4 separate regions of the Homo sapiens genome follow, and regions 2, 3 and 4 are each linked to region 1. The links are contacts of gene promoters, found by promoter capture Hi-C in human tissues and cell types (Jung and others, 2019). All regions are on one chromosome and are shown on one strand. The core of a region is centred on a gene start or on the middle of the fragment in contact, and the rest is flanking DNA. Distances in the headings are between cores, read along the strand shown. Region 1 holds the start of HOXA5 (homeobox A5). Region 2 overlaps LINC03007 (long intergenic non-protein coding RNA 3007). Region 3 has its middle 37 kb from the start of MIR148A. Region 4 overlaps LOC105375199 (a long non-coding RNA gene).

What was found. Contacts are between HindIII fragments. The study calls those that stand out against the background at their distance.
Region 2: a fragment that was not itself captured here is called in contact with the fragment with the promoter of HOXA5 in region 1 in 1 of the 25 tissues and cell types used here (dorsolateral prefrontal cortex).
Region 3: a contact is called between a fragment that was not itself captured here and the fragment with the promoter of HOXA5 in region 1, in 1 of the 25 tissues and cell types used here (spleen).
Region 4: a contact is called between a fragment that was not itself captured here and the fragment with the promoter of HOXA5 in region 1, in 1 of the 25 tissues and cell types used here (spleen).

What each region holds. Positions count from the first base shown.
Region 1 is chr7:27,142,033-27,144,943 of GRCh38, reverse strand. It overlaps HOXA5 (homeobox A5), which reads left to right and starts at 1,263. Exons shown (of 2, transcript NM_019102.4): 1 at 1,263-1,898; 2 at 2,859-2,911. The coding sequence starts at 1,337. All of the region lies in intron 1 of HOXA3 (homeobox A3), which reads left to right. The region is part of intron 1 of HOXA-AS3 (HOXA cluster antisense RNA 3); the gene reads right to left. The HindIII fragment of the contact is 16,485 bases long and covers 1-2,911 here.
Region 2 is chr7:25,752,485-25,755,395 of GRCh38, reverse strand. The region is part of intron 1 of LINC03007 (long intergenic non-protein coding RNA 3007); the gene reads left to right. Among named protein-coding and RNA genes, the nearest start is that of LINC03007, 36 kb to the left of the region's middle. RefSeq lists an enhancer at 734-2,911. The HindIII fragment of the contact is 5,038 bases long and covers 1-2,911 here.
Region 3 is chr7:25,911,499-25,914,409 of GRCh38, reverse strand. No RefSeq gene overlaps it. Among named protein-coding and RNA genes, the nearest start is that of MIR148A, 37 kb to the left of the region's middle. The HindIII fragment of the contact is 6,078 bases long and covers 1-2,911 here.
Region 4 is chr7:26,058,872-26,061,782 of GRCh38, reverse strand. LOC105375199 (a long non-coding RNA gene) reads left to right here. Exons shown (of 7, transcript XR_927114.3): 3 at 86-240. Among named protein-coding and RNA genes, the nearest start is that of NFE2L3, 92 kb to the left of the region's middle. The HindIII fragment of the contact is 5,839 bases long and covers 1-2,911 here.

The DNA.
Region 1 (2,911 bases), core at 14-2,513:
CTCCCAGCCTCCGATAGCGCCCGCGTCGCCGCCACAGCAGCGTTCAGGACCCAACGAGGGGCCCAGGGCCATGGGAGCCGCCAGAGTCCTGGCTTCCAGACGTGCCAGGGGCGCCTGCAACGCCGGGCCTCCAGCGGGGAGACTCCACTTGCCTCTCAGCTATATTTGTGATTTACTTGAGTCTTTCGGAGCCGTGGAAAATAACTACAGAGATACTAGGCACTGCCAAGGAATGCTTCCATTATCGCCCTCATTTTACTCCTGGAGGTCTAAGCAAGACCCCAGTAACCCGCCCCACGGATCCCCAGACCCCAGGCAGCCTCTGTGGCTGCAGGGAGCCTGGGCCCACTCGCTGGGTTCAAGGAGAACCCTCCGACTTGGGGCCCGGCTGGCTCGAGGAACCGGACCCTGTGATGAAGATTTTCCAGGCTGGATACGTAAGCAAATCAAATCGCAAACTAATGACACGAAAACCATATTCACACGAAAGAAAAATCGACTACGGTTATAAAAGTGTATGGAATTTGACCTCGCCTTGGAGAAACACTACACAAAAGCTATCTTTAATAGACGCCTGTCATTTAAGAGCGGCAGGGACACTGTCCCTCATGCGCTCGCAAAAACAGAGCCGTAATTGTAGCTGCTGCTGCTGCGGGCAGGATTTATTTCTCCAATTGGCTAAATGGCTTTCCCCCTTCCCCGAAGGTGATATCTGTATTTTCAAAATTCAGAGCTGCTGGCAGGACGGTCAGTACCGACCCCAACCTCGACACAAAAATAAGAGGGGCTGCAAAACGGGGGAAATAAAGTTGTTGTAAATAAAATGCAAGTCACCACCTCCCCCCAATCCTCTGCATCCTCGCCGGGCGCGCGATCGGCAGCTGACGGCCTAACAATTGGTACATCCTAATGGAACTGCGAGGGAAATGCAATAATTTTGCCATAATGGGCTGTAACCTCAATTCGACCCCGGCCCTTGCAGCCCCCGGTCGGAAGCTGGGCGATGAGCCCTGCCTCCAGCGGGTGGCGCTCGAGTCCGGCTGAACGGCGGCAACTGGCGGCGGGCACGCGCCCGGGGCGCGCGCGCCACCCCCCTCGCCTCCACCCAACTCCCCTATTAGTGCACGAGTTTACCTCTAGAGGTCATCAGGCAGGATTTACGACTGGACAACAAAAGCACGTGATTCGAAGTCGTACCCCATATTTGGGTGCCTACGTAGGAGGGAACCAAGTACATGTCCCAGTCATTTCCATAATTCATCATAAATTGTGCAAGGGTGCTATAGACGCACAAACGACCGCGAGCCACAAATCAAGCACACATATCAAAAAACAAATGAGCTCTTATTTTGTAAACTCATTTTGCGGTCGCTATCCAAATGGCCCGGACTACCAGTTGCATAATTATGGAGATCATAGTTCCGTGAGCGAGCAATTCAGGGACTCGGCGAGCATGCACTCCGGCAGGTACGGCTACGGCTACAATGGCATGGATCTCAGCGTCGGCCGCTCGGGCTCCGGCCACTTTGGCTCCGGAGAGCGCGCCCGCAGCTACGCTGCCAGCGCCAGCGCGGCGCCCGCCGAGCCCAGGTACAGCCAGCCGGCCACGTCCACGCACTCTCCTCAGCCCGATCCGCTGCCCTGCTCCGCCGTGGCCCCCTCGCCCGGCAGCGACAGCCACCACGGCGGGAAAAACTCCCTAAGCAACTCCAGCGGCGCCTCGGCCGACGCCGGCAGCACCCACATCAGCAGCAGAGAGGGGGTTGGCACGGCGTCCGGAGCCGAGGAGGACGCCCCTGCCAGCAGCGAGCAGGCGAGTGCGCAGAGCGAGCCGAGCCCGGCGCCGCCCGCCCAACCCCAGATCTACCCCTGGATGCGCAAGCTGCACATAAGTCATGGTAAAGCCAGCCTTTTTCTAAATCCACGCGACCGCGGGGACGCGGCTCTCGGTCCCCCCTCTCTTCTCTGCCGCCCTCTCCCAGTCTCTCTTGGTCTCATTTCTCCCAGCCCTGCGGAGCTCTCCTTGCCGTTCTCCCTCCCCTGCCTTCCTCCTTCCTCCTCTTCTTTGCGAGCACCCTGCGCTCACAAATAGTGGGGGAAATGGGCGTTCTCTGGGACAGTTTAGACGTTGGAAGGGGGAGGAAGCAAAAAACCCCTCTGGAACCCCACGCCTTGGGACGCGCTCCCGGGTCAGGCCAGCCGAGCAAGGCGCAGAGAGGTAGAGGATGGCTGTAGCAGCCGTGAATCGGGCTTGTCACGGCGGATAATTTATGAGGAGGGCTACGCTGGGGAAACAGCGTTACTAATTACAGCCCCCGAAAAGGGGCTTGGGGGAAAGAATCGAGGCGAGAGCCTGCAGGATTCTGAATTTTGGGGGCAGGAGGGAGAGAGAAGGAAAGGGAAGAAAAAGAAAACAGGCTCCCCAACCCTGCAGGCTGGAAACGGGAGGCGGCTCTCGGGGCTGGAACTTTGAGGGAGGGTGACCCGAAGGCCACTTGGGCGCTCAGGAAAGGGCCTTGCTTCCTGGGTTTCTGTGCGGTGGGCAGCCTGGGAGGGCTGTGCCTCCCGATCGGGGCGCCCGGGGCAGGGCGGAGGGGGCAGGAGAGGGGCCAGGGAAAGCCGGAGTCCGCCGGGACACGGCCCCAGCCTCAGATGGGCAGATTGTTCCCAGGGTCCAAATCGTATTGTTTTCTTTCTAGAAAGGAAGAGAGAAGGAAATTCGGGAGGGGTGTGCGGGCTGGTAGGCAGAACTTGTTGAGCTTTTCGCCTGGGTTCCCTGCTCATGACCCAAGCTTGTCCCCCTGGCGGACTTTGGAAGACAGGAGTTGGTGGCTAAACCGCTGACTTTTCTATTGCAGACAACATAGGCGGCCCGGAAGGCAAAAGGGCCCGGACGGCCTACACGCGCTAC
Region 2 (2,911 bases), core at 171-2,670, 1.4 Mb after region 1:
AAGTCTTTGTGGAAGATACAAAGGGAATGGATGGGGTTACCAGACATTGGATGGTGACACGGAGCCCCAGGATGGGAATCTGTGCCACCACTCAGCATCCAGGAGCTCCAAAGCATCTGCTTATTTGGGGCTACTCCAGGTGGTGTTTTCAAGATAATTCATCCTGAGTGAAATGTTCCCAATAGCCTTTGATCCAGCGACTAAAGTCTCTTTTTGGTGATGCCCCAGGAGGTGAGAGCACTTTGTGTATATCCCTGGTGGCCTGCCCAATTCCTTAGGTTGGTTTCTTCTCTGCTTCAGTAATGAAAATGTGCTGCAATAACCAAAGACCTGCAAAGCAATGTGGAAATATTCACTCATTAGTGAACTATCAGTGCCTCCCATGACTGTTGCCATTTCTATCCATGCAGATGGCAAAGGGCTGGCTTCTGAGTGTGTCTTCCTGAGGCTGCAGAGCAGGAAGGTGACAATCACATCAACCTCTCTCTCCCTCGCATCATCCTGTCCATTTGCTCCTCTCTGCATATACTCCCAGTGCCAAAAATCTAGTTAATTCTGAATTTCCCCAGGCAGTGTCTTCATTTAGGTAGTGCATATCCAAGGCCCAGCATCTGGGTGTCTAAAATCAGTATATTGCCCTGTAGACAGATTTTAGCCACCCCAGATGGAGTTTATGCTCAGGAAGTGTTGGACCTTAGCAGAGCTTTCAGACTTAAGGAAGAAAAAAGATCGACTTTACCACCTTGGCAGCATGGAGACAGCTTTATGTACATGTTCTTACAGGGTTTGGCTAAACATTTTGTACGGTTCGGGTGGAACATGTGAAGAACTGTAATAGAAGCAGAAGCGTTGCAACACGATGGCCCGACCATGGGGGCTTGGCAGCAACTTGCTCCAGCTCTCAGTTTGGTACAAAGTGCTATCATTACCATTTGGAAGCAGCTCCCTGTAATGTGAAAACACTTCCAGGGAAATGCCAGGAATCACAAACACAGCCTTTACAGAATGCAGAGACAACCACTATCTTTGCAGGTGGCCATTGGTGGCCCGGATCTGCCTCCCCAAGTCTTAGGCAGAATCTGGAGTGGACAGGAGGGAGTTGAGGGCAGGGAGGGGGTAAAGATATTTTCCCCAGTCCAGCCAGAAAGCTCGGGTAAACGGGCCCTTCCTTTGTACTCTTGGGTCTTCTGTGTGATCAGCTGAGGCTGAGGAATCTTTGGGGCAAACTCAAGGCAGCCGTGTAAGTCAGGCCTTGGGGAAAGCGGGGAGCAAGGCAGAAAAACAGAGCAGTGGGAAGTGGTTGCTTGGTGCTGAGTTTGGCTTAAAGTGTTGAGCTGTGCTTGAGCCTTCAGGCTCCAAGCAAAACTCCAGGGGAATGAAACCCACAGCAACCCAAACAAGGTTAAGGCTGAGCAGGAGGCCGTCTGTGGGGCCACACTGCTCTTCACACGCGGCCTGTGCAGGCCTTTCGGTGGATGGAGACCTTTCACTGCAAATCGGGTTTCTTTGGACTCATCTGAGCCAGAGTCGTTGAATGTGTTCAGTCACGACTCGGTTTTTCCCAGAAGCAGAACCCCTTTCTCACACCCAAGACCATGTCCTTGGCTGGCAAGCTATTATTTACCTCGTAGCCGAGCCAGGCAAGGGAGCCGGGGGTTGTTTTTGTGAAGAAATTCACACTGGGGATGGGTTGTAAAAGGAAAATATGAACAGAGGTTTGGAGTCGAGACTCTGAGACTCTGTTGGGGTGAACTCCCCCCTCCATAAGAGTCCTAGAAAAACAGAGGCGATGTCGTCATAGCAGCTGCTGATGGCCTGACAGACAGTTTCCGCAGCGCTACATGAGGCCCTTTGGTGTCTCTGTCAGGAGATTGGCAGCTGAATGACACCAATGAGGCCGGGCCTGTATTCCCTCTGGGAATGCCGCCCTAATTGATAGACAGAAGGCAAAGAGGAGGATTGTTTTTGAACCTGAAAAGAAACCCCCTTTTTTTCTCCCGAAAGCTCATGCCCCCACTCTCCACAGCTCTATTTTCCCCTCCCTCCGACACTTTTTTTGGAAGGTGTTTTGTTCCAGGGCAGTTACAGAGCTTAATGGAACTGAATGACTTTTACCCTTCACAATCTGTCAGTCAAAGCCCGACTCCAGGACTGTTAAATAAAGTCCTTTCAGAGGCAGACAGGAGAGGAATGTGTCAGTCAGGCAACAGACCCTGTTGTGTTTTAATCTGTCAGAGGGCTGATGAGGAGAGCAGCGGGCCCCAGGCAGGGCACATTCCCAGCAGCCCGAAGAGGCCTTGACAAACCCAGGTGTGGAGCCAGAAAGTCCCCCCACTCCAGCATTCTTGAGGTGTGGACTCAGAGCCCCCAGGCACTCGGGTTTGCAATCAACTGTGAGATGTTTGGGCAAATTTTCAGCACAGGTTTCATACTAAGCATTTTAAACATAAAACCAACCACTAAGTGCTGGGTATCCGTACGAGGCATGGCTTTCAAATTAATACACTGCTTAGCTGAAAATACAGCAGACAGTAATGTTCTTGCTGAGGGGCCTTCAGGTAGACTCCAATTCCAAACCAATTTTGTCTAGCCACTTTCATTTCTTTCTAATACTTTCCCTTCACATTATATGACAATCCATTAATCTTGCCCATTAACTTAAAATTGCTGGGCAGTTTTTTTGCAGAGTTCTCAACAGTTGCTTTTGTTCACTATAGATTCAGAGCGTTACATAAAAAATGTCCACCATTAGACATACTAATGACCAATTCCTTATGTTTGGGTGACATTTCCTTTAAGGGGTTTCAAAAAAAAATTGGAAAAGGATGAGAGTAGAGTGGAAATAGGGCGGAGGGAGTGGGGAAGTTGATTTTTAAACAAACGGGGTTTGTTTTTATCAGCGTGCAGGAGA
Region 3 (2,911 bases), core at 127-2,626, 1.2 Mb after region 1:
TTCAAGGCAGTTTGGGGTTCCCATTATATGCAGGCTGTGTCCGACGGAAGGGATTTATTCTGCAGCTGAAATGTCTAAGAGTTATTATTTTTCCCACGGAGTATATTTATTTCTTTTTGACAGTGTTTGAGGTTATGGACTCTATTTCTAGCTGACAAAAGAAAACAGCATACAATAAAATCTGTGACATTAGACTGGGTAAAACCAAATGCACTCATTTGCTTTCAGACAAGGACACCCGTTTCAATAACTGAAAGAATTGAGAATGTTTAATGTTCTGAGAACATGCTGAGCTGAATTTAAGTGAAAGATGATCCCTGGTTCTTTCATTCATGCTTTAAAAATAAACTACGTAATTAAATGGCTACAGATACTTCTTTTGTGGGGAGGAAAACAGCAGTCAGATTCTTTGCAATCATGCCAACAGGGCAGTAGGTTTCCTAACCCTTTGGCAAAATTGAGAATCAATACCAATAAGAAAAAAAATAATAACAAAAGGGGAAATCTCACAGGAGTCACAGGCGATAAAAGATTTACAATGTGAATAAAACATTACAGGTCAGCATTAAAACAGATGATACGTCTCTCTGACAAGACAAAGCAGCCAGCCTCTAACCAGAGGTGCAAAACCGCATCCAGGGGCCAATGAGAAAGCCCCAGACCAGCCACTTCCCTTCCCCTCAAGGAAAGGAGCCTCCTTCTCGGGGAGACATTCACTCCACAAGCTGCATTCACAGTTTGACAGTTCACCTTGTTTGAAAGTAAAATTCTCTGGAAGTACAAATCTTGCCCATGCATAATTTCTAGGACTAGTATATTTGGAATTTGTGAACAAAGAGACCAGACTTGCTTTTGAAAAGGAAAAGATGCTTATCTGTTGGTTCATTTTGTAGGTGAATAAGACTTTTAAAAATACAACCTGGAGAAATTATGAAGTCAAAAAAGGTCCATAAAGACAGGCTGAATTCTGACTAAAAGGCAGTGGAAGCCATCGCCAACTGGAGGGGTTTTATGAACATGGTGGAGGGGAACTCTCGGAGGGTGATCATTATTCAGGGCTCATTAGTTCTTGCTGAGTGGACTCTCAATCATGGGAATTTCCATATTCCAAAGCCAAATTCTTGAAAAGAAAACTCAGAAAACGATATTTTGGTGTCCAGCCATTATCAAGGGAATACATTTGACAAATATAAATCAAATTTTATTATTTTCTGCCAAATCATGGAGAGTAGGTCTATATGCTCACCACTCGAAAGAATGCAGTTCACCTCCAATCAGAGACAGCATAACTGGATGCCCAGGCAGCCTGATCTCACATCCCTTAAAGTTGCCAGTGGACACACAGCCATGGCCAACAGTCTCAGTTTGGCAATATGTCTTGTCATGATAAATTAAATATCTGCTTCAGTAACTAGACTCTATACTGGAAACTTGCACACCGATTTTATAACACTTTACATTTAAAATTTAGAGCACTTTATCTTATTTATTATTATTATTATTATTATTTTGAGACAAGGTCTCACTCTGTCACCCAGGCTGGCGTGCAGTGGCATCATCACAGGTCGCTGTAGCCTAGACCTCCTGGGCTCAGGTGATTCTCTCACCTCAGCCTCCCAAGTAGCTGGGACCACAGTGCACACCACCATGCCCGGCTAATTTTTGTATTTTTTGTAGAGATGGGTTTTCACCATGTTGCCCAGGCTGGTCTTGAACTCCTAGGCTCAAGCCATCTCCCCGCCTCGGCCTCCCAAAGTGCTGGGATTATAAGCATGAGCCACCACGCCTGGCCTAGAGCCTTTTAAAAATGGTTCATAGAAGCAAATTTTTGTGTTTTTTTGTGTGTGTGTGTTAACATGAACTACAGAGTTTATCACAGACGATTAGTAACAATATCTAATTCCTGTTCCTGTTTCTCAACTGGCCATCTGGCTTTTCTTAATCTTTTGAAGTTCACTTACTATTGCTAACGATTAATGAGCACATACAAATGTACTAGACACTGGGCTAGGCCCTTTATTTACTTTGTTTTTTTTGCATTTCATCCTCATAGCATCCTTATGAGGTAGAAGCTGTCTACCTTAGTGATAAGAAAATCAGGGCTTGGAAAATTTGGCCAAGGCCACCCACTGCTACCACCAAAATCCAGCCAAGGCAGTTTGAAGCCAGTCAGAGCTCTTAACAGGCACTCCCTGTGGCCTCCCTCCGAGTGCAGGCAATGTAGACTTGTGGCAATTTCTCTCACCTTATTGCTCAGCTAATACCTCTACCCTGAAACTGCCAATATTTTTAGTCCTGATGAATTTCATCCAATTTTCTTCCTTTTCATTTTGCCTCACCCATTTATTTCCCGTTTCTAGAATTGTTTGTCTTGCATGATATGTAGTTATCTAGAAACGCTTGTTTTCTCAGTGTTAAATGAACTCATATCATTGTTTGACTTATAATCTGTGTTGTTCTAGCTTGCCTGGCTTTAGTAATACAGTTTTTACTTCAATTTACAGGCAACCTGCGGAGGAAATAGCTTGGCCTCTGTTATTTACATATTGATGTGTGAGATCCACAAATTATAATGGTGGCGTCTGATAATGCAGTGTCTGTACTGCCCTTTTCTTTATTCTTTTTGAAATGGTGACACAAACCTTTATCACCTGGTTTGGTCTTTTCCTGGAGCAACTTGCTATTTCTAGGAAGATCTAAAATGCAGGGTTTCTTCTTATTTTTTTTTTCTCTTTTTATGGCTCTTCTTCCTTTAGAATGAAGTATTGTACAACTGTTTTCCAATTGGGAACATTCTAATTAAGAAACAGAAAGAACTTAATGGTGTAAAATACATTTGTGTACGATGAAGTAAAAATATTACTTCTTTCTTTTTTTGTGAGACAGAGTCTGTCTCTGTCACCCAGGCTGG
Region 4 (2,911 bases), core at 150-2,649, 1.1 Mb after region 1:
ATCCGCCTCCTTTTTCCCCTCCAAGTAGGATTGTGCCAACCCAGGCAAATATTGAACCTTGTGTTAACAAAGTTTTTTTTTATAGGTGGTCCTTCAAGGATTTCTTGGTTTTGGGTTTTGAAATGTGTAAGGTTTGCTGCTAGCAACTCCACATTTTTTTATTCACTCACAAAGACACATGGTCATAAATAAAATGCATGGAACCAGCGAGACAATAGCACAGCAGTAATGTCATTTTATGTAAGTACTTAAACACCGCAAATTAAACGGCTGACTGAATGAAGCCCATCAATTATATTTTGTGTTTACATCCTTTTGAAAGGAATACATCTCTCTCTGTTTTTGTTTGTTTTATGTTTGTTTTGTTCTGACACCTTCTCAATTACCTGGCACTATAATATTTCTTGTTGCGGACAGATGTCAGAAATACATTGGTAAATATAACATCTTCTTTTGGAAAATAAAACTCCCACTCCCTACTTAAAATAGGTGGTTTTAAAATTTGTATCAACTTAGAAATTGAAAAATCCCTGCTGGAAGAAATCGCTAGTGCATTTGAATGGACTTATTGTCTCTGGTTCATTTCCTTTAGAGTAGATTCTGGCAGGAGTGCCAGACTTATTGCCAAGACAAAAAGAACTATATATTACAGCTCCTGTCCTGCCAACACTAAGTAAAGCTAGTTTGGCAACACTTAACCATTGTTGAGAAGGCCCAAGTATAGTCATAAAAACATTAATATGGCTTATATTCTGTTACTTATGTCTGTTTCTGCACAAATGGTCCTCAAATTTGTACACAGAAAATTTGCCTCCCTCATCAGGCAGCAGTTTCCTGGAAAAACCACAGTAACCTTCTGTACATGAACCAGAGTAGATGGATTCCTGTAGAGGAAGGAGCAAAGAGGAGCCCATGGGAAAGGACGGCTCACCTCTGTGGAGAAGGCTGCCTATCAGTGTTTGTAACAAATAGACCCCTCACTGCATTAGTTTCCAAACAGGGAAATCTATTTCAGTCCAGACACTTTTATTTCTTTCTGGAAAAGAAATAATTGAAATTGCCAACTCTAGGCAGGAGAGAATGCATTGTATGGCTCATAGGGACTGAAGAAGCAGATTAGAAAAGGTGTGTGCTGAGTCTGGTGACCTAACTCAGCAGCTTTTGGCTAAAGGGGTTCCTTGGAATGCAGGGCTTCCTAATTGTGTTAAAATAAAATGATACGCTTAGTCAATAGTTAATGTTTGCCCAGTGTGGGCAGACTTCCTTACAAGGTAGTGTGTGTGGGTAACAATAACATCAACAGAATAGACAGAAGTCCTGCCCTCAGAGAGCTTATGAAACTGTGCATATATTAGGTTGATGCAAAAGTAATTGCGGTTTTTGCCTTTTTTTTAAAAAAAAAAGAATGGCAAAAACCGCAATTACTTTTGCATCAACCTAATAGAATATCACACACTTGAAAGAGGCTTAAGGTCATTATGAAGCATGATACTAATGACTGTGACCCCAGACTCAACTTCTTCAGGAAGGCGTAAATCTTGATCCTGTTTTTTGTTTTGTTTTGTTTTTTTTTTTTTTTTTGAAACAGAGTCTCACTCTGTCACCCAGGCTGGAGTTCAGTGGTAAAATCTCAGCTCAATGCAACCTCTGCCTCCCAGGTTGAAGCCACTCTTGTGCCTCAGCCTCTTGAGTAGCTGTGATTACAGGTGTGCACCACCACACCCAGCTAATTTTTGTATTTTTAGTAGAGATGGGGTTTCACCATTTTGGACAGGCTGGTTTCGAACTCCTGACCTCAGGTGATCTGCCCTCCAAGGCCTCTCAAAATGCTGGGATCACAGGCATGCGCCACCACATCTGGCCCTCTTGATCCTGTTTTTAAAAACTGAAATTGGGCTGAAGCTTGGGTATATCTGGTCTCTAGAAAGCATACCAGAATTCTGTGTATTCCGAAGTATTTAGGAACATGGCAGCCCTCCTGAGCACAAAGGCACTGCTCCCCAAGTGAGATCCGGAGGGGCGAGTGTACGTTTGGTCTCTGTATTTTAATAGGTATTAAACAGCCATTCACTCATTTTCCAAGGTGTTTACTGAGTACTTAGTATATACGAGCCAAAATGCGAGGGCCCTCGAGTTACTTCTGATTGAAAAGAGGATATGACGTGTACATAAACTGCTAAAATTGAATGGACACAGGGATGAGGGTCTCGAGGGAGGCATGTATAAATGGTGAGGAGTTTGGGGAGGGTGGATGACTCATAGATGAGAAGCCTGGGGAGGTTGTCAACGGCGGGTGCATCTTTTTTTTTTGAGGTGGAGTCTCGCTCTGTCACCCAGGCTGGAGTGCAGCGGTACGATCTCAGCTTACTGCAACCTCTGCCTCTCGGGTTCAAGCGATTCTCCTGCCTCAGCCTCCCAAGTAGCTGGGATTACAGGCTCCCGCCACCACGCCCAGCTAATTTTCATATTTTTAGTAGAGACAGGGTTTCACTGTGTTGGCCAGGCTGGTCTCGAACTCCTGACCTCGTGATCTGTCTGCCTTGGCCCCTCAAAGTGCTGGGATTACAAGTGTGAGCCACTGCTCCTGGCCAGCAGGTGCTTCTTATAGGACAAATAGGACTTGACCGCTTTGGAGATGGGCATGAGCCTGGGCCAAGTCCAAAGCTGTAACAGGCTGTGAAGCTTTGTTCCCTTGTCTTTGAGTATCAGATGCCCAGCTAGAACTCCATATTAATAAATTAAACACAGGAGATCGGTTGAACCTTCAGTCAAGCATCTTCCCACATTCCTAATCCTCTGCCTATCTAACTTCAGGAATATTTCTTCACATTATTTTAGTTGAAGGGCTCAAAACTTATTTCTTCTAGTAGGAACTGGTGAATAAATGGTGTCTATTTCCGAGATTCTTTTG